2 separate regions of the Homo sapiens genome follow, and region 2 is linked to region 1. Evidence: promoter capture Hi-C in 16 types of primary human blood cells and fetal thymus (Javierre and others, 2016). All regions are on one chromosome and are shown on one strand. The core of a region is centred on a gene start or on the middle of the fragment in contact, and the rest is flanking DNA. Distances in the headings are between cores, read along the strand shown.

What was found. The method cuts DNA at HindIII sites, captures the fragments that hold promoters and counts their contacts. A CHiCAGO score of 5 or more calls a contact.
Region 2: a contact is called between a fragment that was not itself captured here and the fragment with the promoter of JPT2 in region 1, in 1 of 17 cell types (endothelial precursors). The highest score is 5.3, in endothelial precursors.

What each region holds. Positions count from the first base shown.
Region 1 is chr16:1,676,684-1,683,503 of GRCh38, forward strand. JPT2 (Jupiter microtubule associated homolog 2) reads left to right here and starts at 1,596. Exons shown (of 5, transcript NM_144570.3): 1 at 1,596-1,673. The coding sequence starts at 1,630. It overlaps CRAMP1 (cramped chromatin regulator 1), which reads left to right. Exons shown (of 21, transcript NM_020825.4): 21 at 1-1,225. RefSeq lists silencers at 1,223-1,622, 1,653-2,012 and an enhancer at 1,453-2,088. The HindIII fragment of the contact is 3,871 bases long and covers 1-3,826 here.
Region 2 is chr16:1,510,188-1,517,218 of GRCh38, forward strand. TELO2 (telomere maintenance 2) reads left to right here. Exons shown (of 21, transcript NM_016111.4): 21 at 1-267. It overlaps IFT140 (intraflagellar transport 140), which reads right to left. Exons shown (of 31, transcript NM_014714.4): 31 at 240-963. The coding sequence ends at 757. Among named protein-coding and RNA genes, the nearest start is that of TMEM204, 20 kb to the right of the region's middle. The HindIII fragment of the contact is 251 bases long and covers 1,189-1,439 here.

The DNA.
Region 1 (6,820 bases), core at 346-2,845:
TTCGTCTTTTCTGGAGATTGGGACAGAGCATCTGTGGTCCAGGGAAGTTAGTCCTCTGGCCTCAATTCTGTTGTGGATGTGCAGTGATAAGCGGGCATTGCGTGCCTCGGGGGATGCCTAGTTCGTGGCTTCCTGGCTGTTTTGTCCTTCTGTGTCTTGTAGCTGTAGGGTGCCAGCTCAGGGAGTGGGGTGTTGGCGGCGTTTCCGCGGTTGGCCTCCTTGCTTTGCCGCACCTCCAGGTTCTGGGCATGAGAGGCCGTGGCCTCATTTCTGGTGGATAACCTTTTTAGTTTAATAGCATCTTTAATTAGATCACAGCATTGAATTCAAAATTTCTTCTGCAAAGAAAGTTGTGGGGCATAAGACACCGGGAATGAGGGAGGAGGAAGACAGTTGTGTTTTCTCTTTAAACCTTGAGCTCTAGCCGATGCATTTGTCAGGAAATACAGCACTTTGTCTTAAGAAAACAAGGAAGGAGGCCGGGCGCAGTGGCTCACGCCTGTAATCCCAGCACTTTGGGAGGCCGAGGCGGGCGGATCACCTGAGGTGGGGAGTATGAGACCACCCTGACTAACATGGAGAGACCCTGTCTCTACTAAAAGTACAGAATTAGCCGGGCGTGGTGGCGCATGCCCATAATCCCAGCTACTGAGGAGACTTGAGGTAGGAGAATCACTTGAACCTCAGCGGCGGAGGTTGCAGTGAGTCGAGATCGCGCCAGTGCACTCCAGCCTGGGCAAGAAGAGCGAAACTGGGTCTCAAGTTAAAAAAAGAAAGCAAGGAAAGAGTAATTTACAACGAAGGAAAAAAACCCACAGCACACCCTTCGCGGCTGTCAGCGCTCTCCTGATGTCACAGTGGCTGCGTGTCCTTGGGGTGGGTGAGGTGTGGGGAGCCCAGCCCCTGGCCCTGCCTCCCGCGCCCCGCTCCCCTTCTCTCTCTTACTCGGTTAAGCCATAGCGAGGCCTCCGCTCGTTTCAGATATGAATTTGTTTTATAGATTATAAATATGCATATACAGTGTATGTATAAAGCAGAATGCCTGCCTTTCCTGGTTATTTTTTGTACCATATTGTAAATTATATTATTTATTCTTTACCAATTTTGGGAATAAAAGGTGTTTTGGTTATTTAATATAATAAGAGCTGTTAAACTTCTGTTTAAATTTCCAGTTCAACTTGTAAATGTTTTTATTGTGCATAAATACATACTAATGTTGATCTAAGGACTGTCGTTTGTGCCTGTTCTTCAGGGCCGCGCGCCCATGCCCGCAGTCCCTGGTCGGGCAGGTGCGGCCCAGGTGCGGCCCCGCGGTCGGCTCGCGGGCTCCCGCAGACCGGGCTTCCTCCCGAGGGCGCGGCCGTCCCAGGGCCCGCCCGGCCCGCCGCCCAATGCGAGCTCCCACCTCCGCGAGCGGCGTCGCCTTCCCCAATCGGCTGCGGGCGCGGCGCCGACCGTTCAAAGCCTAAGTCGTCGGGGGTGGGCGTGAGGGGCGGTGGCCGCGCTGAGATAGGCTGCGGAGGGATGATTGGCGTCTTGGCGCCCAATGGGCGCTGGCGGGCGGCCTTGAGTACCTGCGCTGGGCGGGCGGGAACGGCGCGCGGCGAGCTGAGGGTGGCGGCGGTCGACATGTTCCAGGTCCCGGATAGCGAGGGCGGCCGCGCCGGCTCCAGGTGCGGCGCGGGGCACACGGGAGGCGGGCGGATAGCGCGACCACGTGGCGGGAGCGGGCCAGCCCAGGGCGTCCACCAGCCGTGTGGGGTTGGGGTGGGGTTGGGGGGCAGGGCGACCTCACAGAGGCCCTCGGGGCCGCCGCCCGCCTTTCTGCGCCGCCGCCAGACCGAGGCCCGAAGCCCGAGGGGCCGCTCGCTGAGGCCCGGGCTGTGGAGAGCTGCCCGCGACCGAGGCCGAGGGCGGGGAGGGGCGCCCGGGCTCTGGGAACAAAGCTGTGTGGAGGGCGGGCTGCGCTCCCTCGCGCCTGGGCGCCCGCGTTCCGTGTGGTGCGTTCCGTGGGGGGTTTCCTGGGGGCGGGGTGTGCCCGTGGGTGCGGCCCATTTTGTCTGTGGGATGCGTGTCCATGTTCCCGGGGGGGTGTCCCTAAGGGGTGTGCGGCGATGTGTTCGTGGGGGGTGTCTGGCCATGCCCCCGCTCCTGTGCGTGTGGCCGTGTGCCCGTGTCCCTGGTGTGTGTGTGGCCTGTGCCCTGCCCATGGCCGCGCTTCCACTAGTTCATGTGAGTCCACTTCCTTTGGAAAGTGCCAGGGCGTCTGGGGAAGAGTCAGTTCTATCTCCTGGGAAGGTGGATGGCGCTCCTGGGCTTCGCTGTAGGAAGAAGTGGATTGGGACGAAGATATCCTGACTCAGCTTTAATAGCCAGGAACACTGAGCACACTTTTCTTATGTTTTTGAACTTTTAAAGCACTCTTTGGGTATTGGGACTCGCATGAATTAGAGGGACAGAGCTTACAAGGTCTTTCGTGCCACTTGAGCAGTAAACTTGCATTGTGAAGTTTGGGTCTTCAGATGCCTGAGGTTTTCTGTATGATGAGCCCCTCTGTGGCACAGCCTCGCCAGAGAAGTAGAAGAGAATATGTGTGCCATGACTGTTAAGACCAATACTATATTGCTTCTCAGCCTTTTGGCTATGATCAAGTGAAGACAAATACTATATTGAATAAATACTAAGTAAAAGAATTGCTCCAACTTGCTAAAAATAAAAACCCTTTAGATTGGCCGGGCGTGGTGGCTCACACCTGTAATCACGGCACTTTGGGAGGCTGAGGTGGGCGAGTCACGTGAGGTCAAGAGTTCGAGACCAGCCTGGCCAACATGGTGAAACCCCCGTCTCTACTAAAAATGCAAAAATTAGCCAGGCGTGGTGGTGTGTGCCTGTAGTCCCAGCTACTTGGAGAGGCTGAGACAGGAGAATCACTTGAACCCAGAGGCAGAGGTGGCAGCGAGCCAAGATAATGCCACTGCACTCCAGCCTGTACGACAGAGCAAGACTCCGTCTCAAAAAAAAAAAAAACCCTTTAGATTTGAGGGAGTTAGGTCAGTATTCAGTAATACTTGTAACCAAATAATTACCCGTGGCAGGGTGCAGTGACTCAACGGCTGTAATCCCGGCACTTGGGGAGGCCGAGGCAGGTGGACCACGAGATCAGGAGATCGAGACCATCCTGGCCAACACGGTGAAACCCCGTCTCTACTAAAAATACGAAAAAATTAGCCGGGTGTGGGGTGGCGGGTGCCTGTAGTCCCAGTTCCTTGAGAGGCTGAGGCAGGAGAATGGTGTGAACCCGGGAGGCGGAGCTTGCAGTGAGCCGAGATCACACCACTGCACTCCAGCCTGGATGACAGAGCAAGACTCCGTCTCAAAGAAACAGCCCTTCATCCATGGAACAGTGATTATTATGCCTAGGTCTGCACCGATGTGGGACCAGGAGTTTAAACTAGTGCTCAGAGCGAATCCGGTTTCTGGTTCCTGGTGGCCAGAGTTTTGCACCACCCACATCAGTGGGGGGAGGGACTGCATCCCCAGCCCTGTCCCAGTTGTGTGCATTTAGTACGTTTCCTTTTTGTTTGTGCTGCCTGGCACTGGCTGCCCGGTAAATGATGGTGTTTATTATCACCCTGAGCGACGCCGATGTTTTTATATTGACTTTCACGCTCCAGAAGTTAGCTGCACAGGGCCGCACTAAAGTCATACTCACACTACCCTGGGGGACTGGTTTCTGGACAAGGTGTTGAGAAAGGGAGAAAACTCTTCCTTTTAGGATGGTGAGGAAGGAAAGCCGGTCTGAACTGGATGATGAGGTATCACTGGAAGCTTCTGCTTGGGGTCCACCAGACGCTGCACATTTGCCACTCATCTGAACGGGGTCGAGTCGCAGGGCGGGCGCCTTGTAAGCGTCACATTTAGTTTTGCTGTGAAGCGAGTCAGGTGGTGGCTGTAAGATTACCTAGCCAGGTTTTCCTCTCCTGAGACCTCACATCTCTCCTTTCCTTGCTGAGGGATTGTCTTGTGTTAAAGGGGTTTCGTAAAAGCGTTATGCTTTAGCCGCGATTAACCTGAGGTCTTCCTTCAAGCTGGAACATTTCTATTTGTAAGGAATTTAATCCAAGTTTATTTCTCACTGCTTCTCTCTAAGCCTGACCAGTCCCCTCATCCTTTCTGAAACTCGGGGACAAACTATTAGAGAGGGTCAGGAGCATGGAGACCCCCGAGGAGGGTCACACAGCTTTTCCCTACCTCTCCAGTGCTGCAGTCCACTCCAGCTGTGTGAGGTTTTTCTTCTCCTGTGCGCTTGAGTTTCTCTTGTGTGTTTTGAATATCTTCACTGAAATATATGGAAGGGGTACCACAAAAGGCAAAAAATAATTGGGAAGCACCCCCCACTCACATTGTGAATTTGTCCCCAAATGTGTGAGCTCTAGCGTTCCCCCTCCCCCTATTAGTGTCATAGTGGTAAGTGCCTGTAGCCTAGAGAAAGCCACACTGCGCCATTGTTGTCGGGCTGTTTTTGTTGAAAGGTCTATTGAACGCTCAGTTCCATTCATCCGAGACCCCTTTGAGGCAGCCCAGCCCTGCGGTCTGTGTGAAACCTGCAGTGGGACCTGTTGCCTTTGTGACCGAGATAGCCGCTGCCCCTTGCCTGGGGCTGGGCCTGTGTGCGCCATAATTTCTGCTAAAACCGTCTTTGGTACCACTTTTTTTTCTTTGCTTGTTTTCAAATAAAATTCAGAAAAGCACATAGAACAATATTAAATATTGTGTTTCCATCACCCCAAAGTAACACTGGTCATTGCAAGTAACTACCACTCACCTCCTGCGCCCATTGGTCCCCATTCCACATGGAGGCCACAGACTCAATTTGGGTTTCACCTCTTCCAAATTTTGGAGTCCCGATGGCACTAGGCGTCTGTCACGTCACTCACACAGACACTGAAACCACCTGTGCAGAGCTCTAGCTTTCCTGTTTAAACTTGAAGCTCCTCCGGGGTAAGGACTTGCTTTCCTCTATCTACGGCGTCTGGGGAAGGATTGCCAATGATAGGTGCTCGAGAGATGTGCAAGTTGAACTGAAGCAAGGGTGAAAGGCAGAGGAGACAGGAGACTGTGAATGTAGGGAATGTGGGGTCGGGAAAGAGTCCTACAGAGCTTGCAGTCAAGGCGAGTCTACCTGGAATCAGATCTGACAGTTTGTAGCACCTTGAGGGCTTGAGAGAAAAGCCATATTTGAAATAAGTCAGTAAAAGGAATTATAGCTCATGCTCAGCTCACATAAGACTTGATAAATTCAGTTCAGTTCGAAAGATTGCAGGCCTTCATCCCTTATTTCCAAAGAGAGAACTGTAGAGACCCGTGCATGTTTAGACCTGCTACACTATCCAAGAAAAATCGCAGAATTGGCTGGGCACAGTGGCTCACGCCTGTAATCCCAGCACTTTGGGAGGCCGAGGCGGGCGGATCACTTGAGGTCAGGAGTTTGAGACCAGCCTGGCCGACGTGGTGAAACCCCGTCTGTACTAAAAATACAAAAAAATAGCCAAGCACGGTGACGCACACCTGTAATCCCAGCTACTCGGAAGGCTGAGGCGGGAGAATTGCTTGAACCTGGGAGGTGGAGGTTGCGGTGAGCTGAGATCGCGTCACTGTATTCCAGCCTGGTAACAGAGTGAGACTCCATCTCAAAAAAATAAAATAGGCCGGACACAGTGGCTCATGCCTGTAATCCCAGCACTTTGGGAGGCTGAGGTGGGCGGATCACCTGAGGTCAGAAGTTCAAGACCAGCCTGGCCAACATGGTGAAACCCCGTCTCTACTAAAAATAGAAAAATTAGCTGGGCATGGTGGCGGGCATCTGTAATCCCAGCTACTCAGGAGCCTGAGGCAGGAGAATCGCCTGAACCCAGGAGGTGGAGATTGCAGTGAGCCGAGATTGTGCCATTGCACTCTGGCCTGGGCAACAAGAGCGAGATTTCGTCTCAAAAAAAAAAAAAAATGTAGAATTAGGAGGGCTGCGTGATTCAAAAATGGATATGGAAGTCAGATGGCCTTATGGCCACTCTAAGAGCACCTCACCTAAAATCTTGTTAAGCCACGCCCTCCCACCCACCACCCTTTATTTTTTTTCCTTTTGGTGAAACAAGTCCTCACTCTTTCGTCCAGGCTGGTGTACAGTGATGCAATCATGGTTCACTGCAGCTTTGACCTCCTGGGCTCAAGCCAGCCTTAGCCTCCCGAATAACTGGGACAACAGGCGCATACCACCACACCCAGCTAATTTTTTGTTTGTTTGTTTGTTTTTTTGAGACGGAATCTCGCTCTGTCACCCAGGCTGGAATGCAGTGGCGCATCTTGGTTCACTGCAAGCTCCGCCTCCCGGGTTCACGCCATTCTCCTGCCCCAGCCTCCTGAGTAGCTGGGACTACAGGCGTCCGCCACCACGCCCGGCTAATTTTTTGTATTTTTAGTAGAGACGGGATTTCACCGTGTTAGCCAGGATGGTCTCGATCTCCTGACCTCGTGATCCGCCCACCTCGGCCTCCCAAGGTGCTGGGATTACAGGCGTGAGCCACCACGCCTGGCCTTATTTTTGTATTTTTTGTAGAGACAGGGTCTCCCCATATGCCCAGGCGTGTCTCGAACTCCTGGGCTCAAACAGTCCTCCCACCTCGGCCTCCCAAGGTGCTGGGATTACAGGTGCCAGGTACTGCTCCCGGACAGCCCTTTCTCATTTAAGCTTGGTTATTGGTTATTTTTAAAAAATAATTTTTCTTAAGTGCACCTGTCTTTTTTTTTCTCCCTCCTCAAATCC
Region 2 (7,031 bases), core at 64-2,563, 170 kb before region 1:
CTGGCGGGGTTGACTCTTCCAGTGAGGGCAGAACCAGGCTGGCAGGAGGGGAGGACGGTGTACCTGCTGCTCAGAGCCCCCAAGGCTCTCCTCTGAGAGCCACCAAGCAGGACAGAGCAGCTCTTGTCCCAGGTCCCTCGGGCTGAGCGCCGTGTCACCAGGAGAATAGTGCTCACAGCCCAGGCAGGGTGTGTGGCTCCTGGATGGGCTCGTGGGGCGGGATGGGACAGGGCACGGGCTCTCAGAAAATAAACTGCTTTATTGGAATTACAGGAGTGTTGGTGGCCGGTGGGCAGAGCCTAGCAGGGGGTGCAGCCGCCAAGGCCCGGGTGTCCCAGCTGTTGCTCAGGAGCCGTGGGCCCTGCAGGAGTATGGGGAGGATATGATGTGTGGGGAGCAGGGGGGCAGGTGCCCCAGCCCTCCAGCTGCAGCTTCCTGAGGTTCTAGAAGTTTCTCAGGCTTTACAATGTGTAGTTGGGAGAATACGATGGAAGGGTGAACCCGACTCCCTTCAAAGGAATGAATCCAAAAATCTAGTGGAGCTGCCGGGCACCCAGAGGCAGGTGGGACAGAGCAAGGTGCAGACGGGTCACACCCTCCGCCGGCCCGGGCCGCTGCGTTCTCGCCCAGCTCTGTCGCGTATTCCAACACAGACATGTTTTTTCCCAGCAAAAATGCTGGCTTTGCCACAGCTGACAAAAAAATTCCAGAAGATGCCTTTCTGCAGCAGCACGCTGGTCCTGGGGCCCAGGCCCCTCAGGGGTCGTCATCTGCCTCTTCCACCACCTCCTCGTCCAGCTCCCTGGCGTCCTCCATGCTGTTGTGGCGGACCTGCTCGGGGACGGTGCGTGGCAGTGGGAGACCCAGCCCCCGGTGCACGGCGTCCACGGCCTGCGGGCTCACGTAGTAGGACATGTTGGCCAAGGGAAGCCGCCGCCGCATCTCCTCCAGGAATCTGTAGGCCTGGGGCAGAGGAGCAGACATTACTCAGCTTTCCTGAACAACCAGGCACGACCCTCTGCCTGCAGGCCAGGCACGTGCTGCTGCCCCTGGAGGCGGGTGGGGGTGCCTCCGCGCTGGAGGACACGGGGTGCACTGAGGCTTCCCATTGGTGATGGGGGAATGTGGTGATGAGGGGATGCGGTGCCCGCGGACCGCACACATGCCATGTGTGGACACTCAACAGGAAGCTTCGGTCAGCATTTCAGCTGGAAATGCAGAGCCAGGGCCCTGGAAAGTCCCTCAGCAGCTGTGCACAGGCCTGCTCACCGTGCGTGTGCGGGCAGAGCCTCCTGGGGAGGCAGAGGCCCCGCGTTCTGCACTCGAGTCTTGCGGGTGGACATGCATATGTCAGAGTGGAGGGCAGGCAGCGATATCTACTGGTTTGGCTTGGGTATTTTTTTTTTTTGAGATGGAGTCTCAGCTATGAAGATATAATAAGCTTGTTGGATGGCCCCTCCCATCACCTGGCAGTGGACCTGCGTTTAAGGAAGGCCTCAGCTGGGGTGGGCGCTGGTGGAGTGCAAGCCTTCCACACAGTCTCAAACGAGAGGCTGAGGGCAAACATCCACACCTGAAAAGATGCTGCCTTACATGCTGACAAACCACCTGCCATGTGCCAGGCGCTGTGCTGGGGACACAGGGGACACAGGACGTAAGGGCACAGAACAAGCTTGGGTAATGCTGTAGTGGGGAGCCAGGTCAGGCCGAGGTCCTGCAGTGGCAGAATTCAGAGAAGGGCTGGCACAGGGAGGGAGAGAGAGGAAGGAGCTGACCAGGGTCGAAGAGGGACCCTGTGGTCAGAAAGGGCCGGCGTCCTGATGCAACCAGGGCCTGGTGCGTGTGACTGCTCTGTGTGCAGAGCTAGCTTCGGAGAGGGCAATCAAGTGGTTTCCAGAAGGCAGGCAGAAGGTGCGGAGGGCGGGTGAGGGGTGGTGGGGGGCAGGACAGGCGGCATAGGTGGGTGAGGGGTGGTGGGGGGCAGGATGGGGGGCAGGACAGGCGGCATAGGTGGGTGGGGGGCAGGATGGGGGGCAGGACAGGCGGCGTAGGTGGGTGAGGGGCGGTGGAGGGCAGGACGTGGGGACAGAAATGTTGCCGGTCTCCAGCATCAGGAGGGTGTGTGCGGGCTGTGCTCAGATGATGGATGATGGCGGGAAAGCTGAGCGGATATAGGAGCTGTGGCCTGGGTGAGGTGGTGCACGTGACCCCGGGTGGCGCTACAGCAGCAGCCAGGGAGCGTGTGCCTGGGCATTCTCAGTTTAGCTGCGCTTCCCAGTTTCTTTTTTCTTTTGTATCTCGAGTTACTAAATTCCACAGGCTTCAAGCAACCATAGAGAGAATAAAGAAGTTGGCGAAATATTTAAAATGTGGATTTCCTGTTAATTTTGAGGATATAGCAGTCTGGGCATCTCTCTACTCCAATTTTGCTTTTATACGGAAAACTATAGTTCTCCTAGAAATAGAAACCCCGTTGGAGCAGGGCGCGGTGCTGCACACCAGCCACTCACGAGGATCCCTTGAACCCGGGAGGCTGAGGCTGCAGGGAGCTGTGATTGTGCCACCGCACTCCAGCCTGGGCGACAGAGCAAGACCTCGTCTCAAAACCAAACCAAGCAACAACAAAAAAGAAACCTTGTTAGGATTAGACTTGAGTTGTTTTTTCCAGCAGCAAAAGGGGTCAGTGAATGGAAGTGGAACGGCGCAGAGGGGAGTGAGCAACCGGGCCAGGAAGTCTGTGTCTCACGGAGCTGACCTTTCAGCCCTGAGGGAGAGCCACTGCCAAGGAGCTTTCCTGTGAATTCTGGAGGCTGCAGCCCAGCGAGCCCGACACGGTCGCCAGCATGTTTCCCAAGCTCATTTCTCGATACTCAGTTTGTGAGTCCCGGGAACTATCTAATAGGGCAACACAACTGGTGGGTGCAGAGGCCCTGCAGGCATCGGCATAGCTGCAGGGTCTGACGGATGCAGGCGCGTGCAATTCTCTATGTTGGCTACAACAGAATTATGGTTGAAAAAGAGGCCGGGCGCGGTGGCTCACGCCTGTAATCCCAGCACTTTGGGAGGCCGAGGTGGGCGGATCACGAGGTCAGGAGATCAAGACCATCCTGGCTAACACGGTGAAACCCCGTCTCTACTAAAAAATAAATAAATAAATACAAAAATTAGCTGGGCGTGGTGGCGGGAACCTGTAGTCCCAGCTACTTGGGAGGCTGAGGCAGGACAATTGCTTGAGCCCAGGAGGCGGAGGTTGCAGTGAGCCACGATCATGCCACTGCACTCCAGCTGGGCAACAGAGCAAGACTGTCTCAGAAAAGAAAAAAGAATGAGAAGAGAGGCTTCTGACAACAGCAGCACGACTCCTGTGAGAGCAGCCCTCCCCCTAATGACGACGGACACATGGAAAGGCACTGGGGGCAGCCGTGAGCAGGCTGATGCTGGGAGTGGGTGGCACTGGGCAGGCTTCCTGCTTCTCACAACTTTCTTTTTTTTTTTTTCTTTTTTGAGACGGAGTCTTGCTGTGTCGCCCAGGCTGGAGTGCAGTGGTGCGATCTCTGCTCACTGCAAGCTCCGCCTCCCGGGTTCACACCATTCTCCTGCCTCAGCCTCCCAAGTAGCTGGGACTACAGGCGCCCACCACCACACCCGGCTAATTTTTTGTATTTTTAGTAGAGACGGGGTTTCACCGTGTTAGCCAAGATGGTCTCCATCTCCTGACCTCATGATCTGCCCGCCTTGGCCTCCCAAAGTGCTGGGATTACAGGCGTGAGCCACTGCACCCGGCTGCTTCTCACAACTTTCTGCCTCAGGGTAGGCCCAAGTCAGGGCCAGTGTGGGCATCAGCCACCTCGAAGCCTGCCCTCTTCCAGGCTTAAAGAATCAGAATCAAGATTTTTGTTGGCCAGGTGCGGTACCTCACGCCTGTAATCCCAGCACTTTGGGAGGCCAAGGTGGGTGGATCACGAGGTCAGGAGATCGAGACCATCCTGGCTAACACGGTGAAACCCCGTCTCTACTAAAAATGCAAAAAAAATTAACTGGGCGTGGTGGCGGGCGCCTGTAGTCCCAGCTACTCGGGAGGCTGCAGCAGGAGAATGGCATGAACCAGGGAGGCGGAGCTTGCAGTGAGCCGAGATCACGCCACTGCACTCCAGCCTGGGCGATAGAGCGACACTCCATCTCAAATAAATAAATAAATAAATAAATAAAAGATTTTTGTTGACCACAGCAGCTGGAATGTGAAGGTGGAAACGTTGGGATGCAGCAGGCATAGAGGGGATCCCAAATCCTGAGCATATGCTGCCCTCGTCACTAGTTGCTCCCACACTACACATGAGGCAGGGGAGGTGCAGACTTTAAGCCAACTCACGCTACAAGCAGGGATTTCAGCTGCTATCCACCACAGGGGAAAGAGTTTCGGCTCTGAGCTGAGCAAAGGTGATTGCCTAATAAAATGAACCAAAAAAAAGCAATACTCTTTGGAGGAATGTAACAGAATCCAGAGTCTCTACAATGGATTATCCACAATGTCCATGATACAAAAAAATGACTAGACATAAGAAACAGGAAAATTTGACCCATACTCAAAAGGCAAGTAATGGAGATCAATCCTACATGACCCAGATATTGGAACCGGTAGCTAAGATTTTACAGCAGCAGTTACAACTCTGCTTTAGGATATAAATATAAAATATATTTTAAACAAATTAACAAATAGGGAATTTTAGCCAATAAATAATAAAAAGAACTAAGTGTAAATTCTAGGGCTGCAAAATACAAGCTCTAAAAAGATTGCTGGAGAGGTTAACAGCAGATTGAAGATAGCTAAAGAAAGTCTAGATAAATACAAATTAATCCAAAGGACAGAAAAAAAGAAAATAATGAGCAGTAATCACAAATGTGTGTCTACTAGATATGGAAGACCTAACATTTAATTGGAGTCCCAGAAGGAGAAAAAGAGCAAATTTCCCAAATTTGGCAAAACACAAATATAGATCCCAAAAGCCCAGGATAAATACAATGAAAACACCTAGGAACATCATTATCGCACTGCTGAAACACAAATTCAAGAAGAAAGTCATGACAGCAGCCAGTGCAGTGGGAGATGGAGAGACACATGACATGTAAGGGCCCCACAGACAGCCCATAGCTGACTCTTCCAGAAACAATGGAGGCCCAGACAGGGAAAACATTCAAGTGCTGAAAGGAAAAAAATCTGTCAAATCAGGATTTTTTTTGAATCAGGATCTTGCTTTGTCACCCAGGCTGGAGTGCAGTGGTGCTATCACAGCTCACTGCAGACTCAACCTCCTGGGCTCAAGCAGTCCTCCCACCTCAGCCTCCCAAGCAGCCAAGACTGCAGGTGCATGCCACCATGCCTTGCTATTTTTTTCAGAGATGGGGTCTCACTTGTTACCCAGGCTGGACTTGAACTCCTGGCCTCAAGAAATCCTCCCACCTTGGCCTCCCAAAGTGCTGAGATTACAGGCATGAGCCACTGTGCCTGGCCTCAGAATTCTCTATCTGATGAGAACAACCTTGAAGAATACAGGCAAAATAAATACATTTCAGATTAACGAAAAGTAAGAAAATTCATCATCAGGAGATCTGAACTAGAAGAAATGTTAAAGGGAGCTCAGGCTGAAGAGGAGTGATACCACATGCAAATCGGAATCATAGGGAAGAAGTAAGAACACCAGAAATGACGCTTTGGGAGGCCGAGGCAGGCAGATCACCTGAGGTTGGGAGTTTGAGACCAGCCTGACCAACATGGAGAAACCCCATCTCCCCTAAAAATACAAAATTAGCCAGGCGTGGTGGCGCATGCCTGTAATCCCAGCTACTCCGGAGGCTGAGGCAGGAGAATCACTTGAACCTGGAGGGTAGAGGTTGTGGTGAGCTGAGGTTTGTTGCCCACTCCAGCCTGGGCTACAAAGAGCAAAACTCTGTCTCAAAAAAAAAAAAAAAAAAAAAAAAAAAAAAAAAAAAAAACACCAGAAATGGATGGTAAATATGTAGGTAAATGTAAAAGACTATTTCTTTCCTTTTAATTTCTTCAAAATACATATGACTGTTGAAAGCAACAATTATAACACTATACTGTGTTTATAATACATGTACATGTTACACATACGACAAATACAGGTGGGGACACGGGTGGGAAATGGACCTACCTGCTAACTCTAGTGTGGTAAGTATGTTTATGGTAATCTCCAGGGCAAACACTAGAAATACAATGCAAAGAGGAGTAGAGATAAAAAGCTGATAGCTAAAATGAAATTATAAAAAATAGTCCACTAAGGCCAGGTGCGGTGGCTCACGCCTGTAATCCCAGCACTTTGGGAGGCCGAGGCGGGCGGATCATGAGGTCAGGAGATCGAGACCATCCTGGCTAACACGGTGAAACCCTGTCTCTACTAAAAATACAAAAAAATTATCTGGGCGTGGTGGCGGGCGCCTGTAGTCCCAGCTACTCGGGAGGCTGAGGTAGGAGAATGGCGTGAACCCGGGAGGCAGAGCTTGCAGTGAGCCGAGATTGCACCACCGCACTCCAGCCTGGGCGACAGAGCGACACTCTGTCTCAAAAAAAAAAAAAAAAAAAAATCAACTAAAAAGAAGGCAGGAAAAAAGGTTTAAAGTAACAATAATAAAAACTGGTAGAAAAAGTTGACTGGTAGAAAACTGACATGAAAAAGATGGATGGGATTACCATCAGAGTGAGACACTGCAGAAGGAAAGCTGGTAAACTTGAAGCAACAGAAATGGCAAATCCCTAAAATGAAAAACAGAAAAAGTCCTTGGGGGAGAAAAGAAGAGCATCAGTTGAGCTAGGGGATGGTACTGTATATACAAGTCATTGGAATTTCAGAAGCAGAGGAAAAAAGGAATAGAAGGGAACTTCGGCCAGGCGCGGTGGCTCACGCCTGTAATCCCAGCACTTTGGGAGGTGGAGGCGGGTGGATCACTTGAGGTCACGAGTTCAAGACCAGCCTGGCCAAATGGTGAAACCCCATCTCTACAGGCATGCTGAT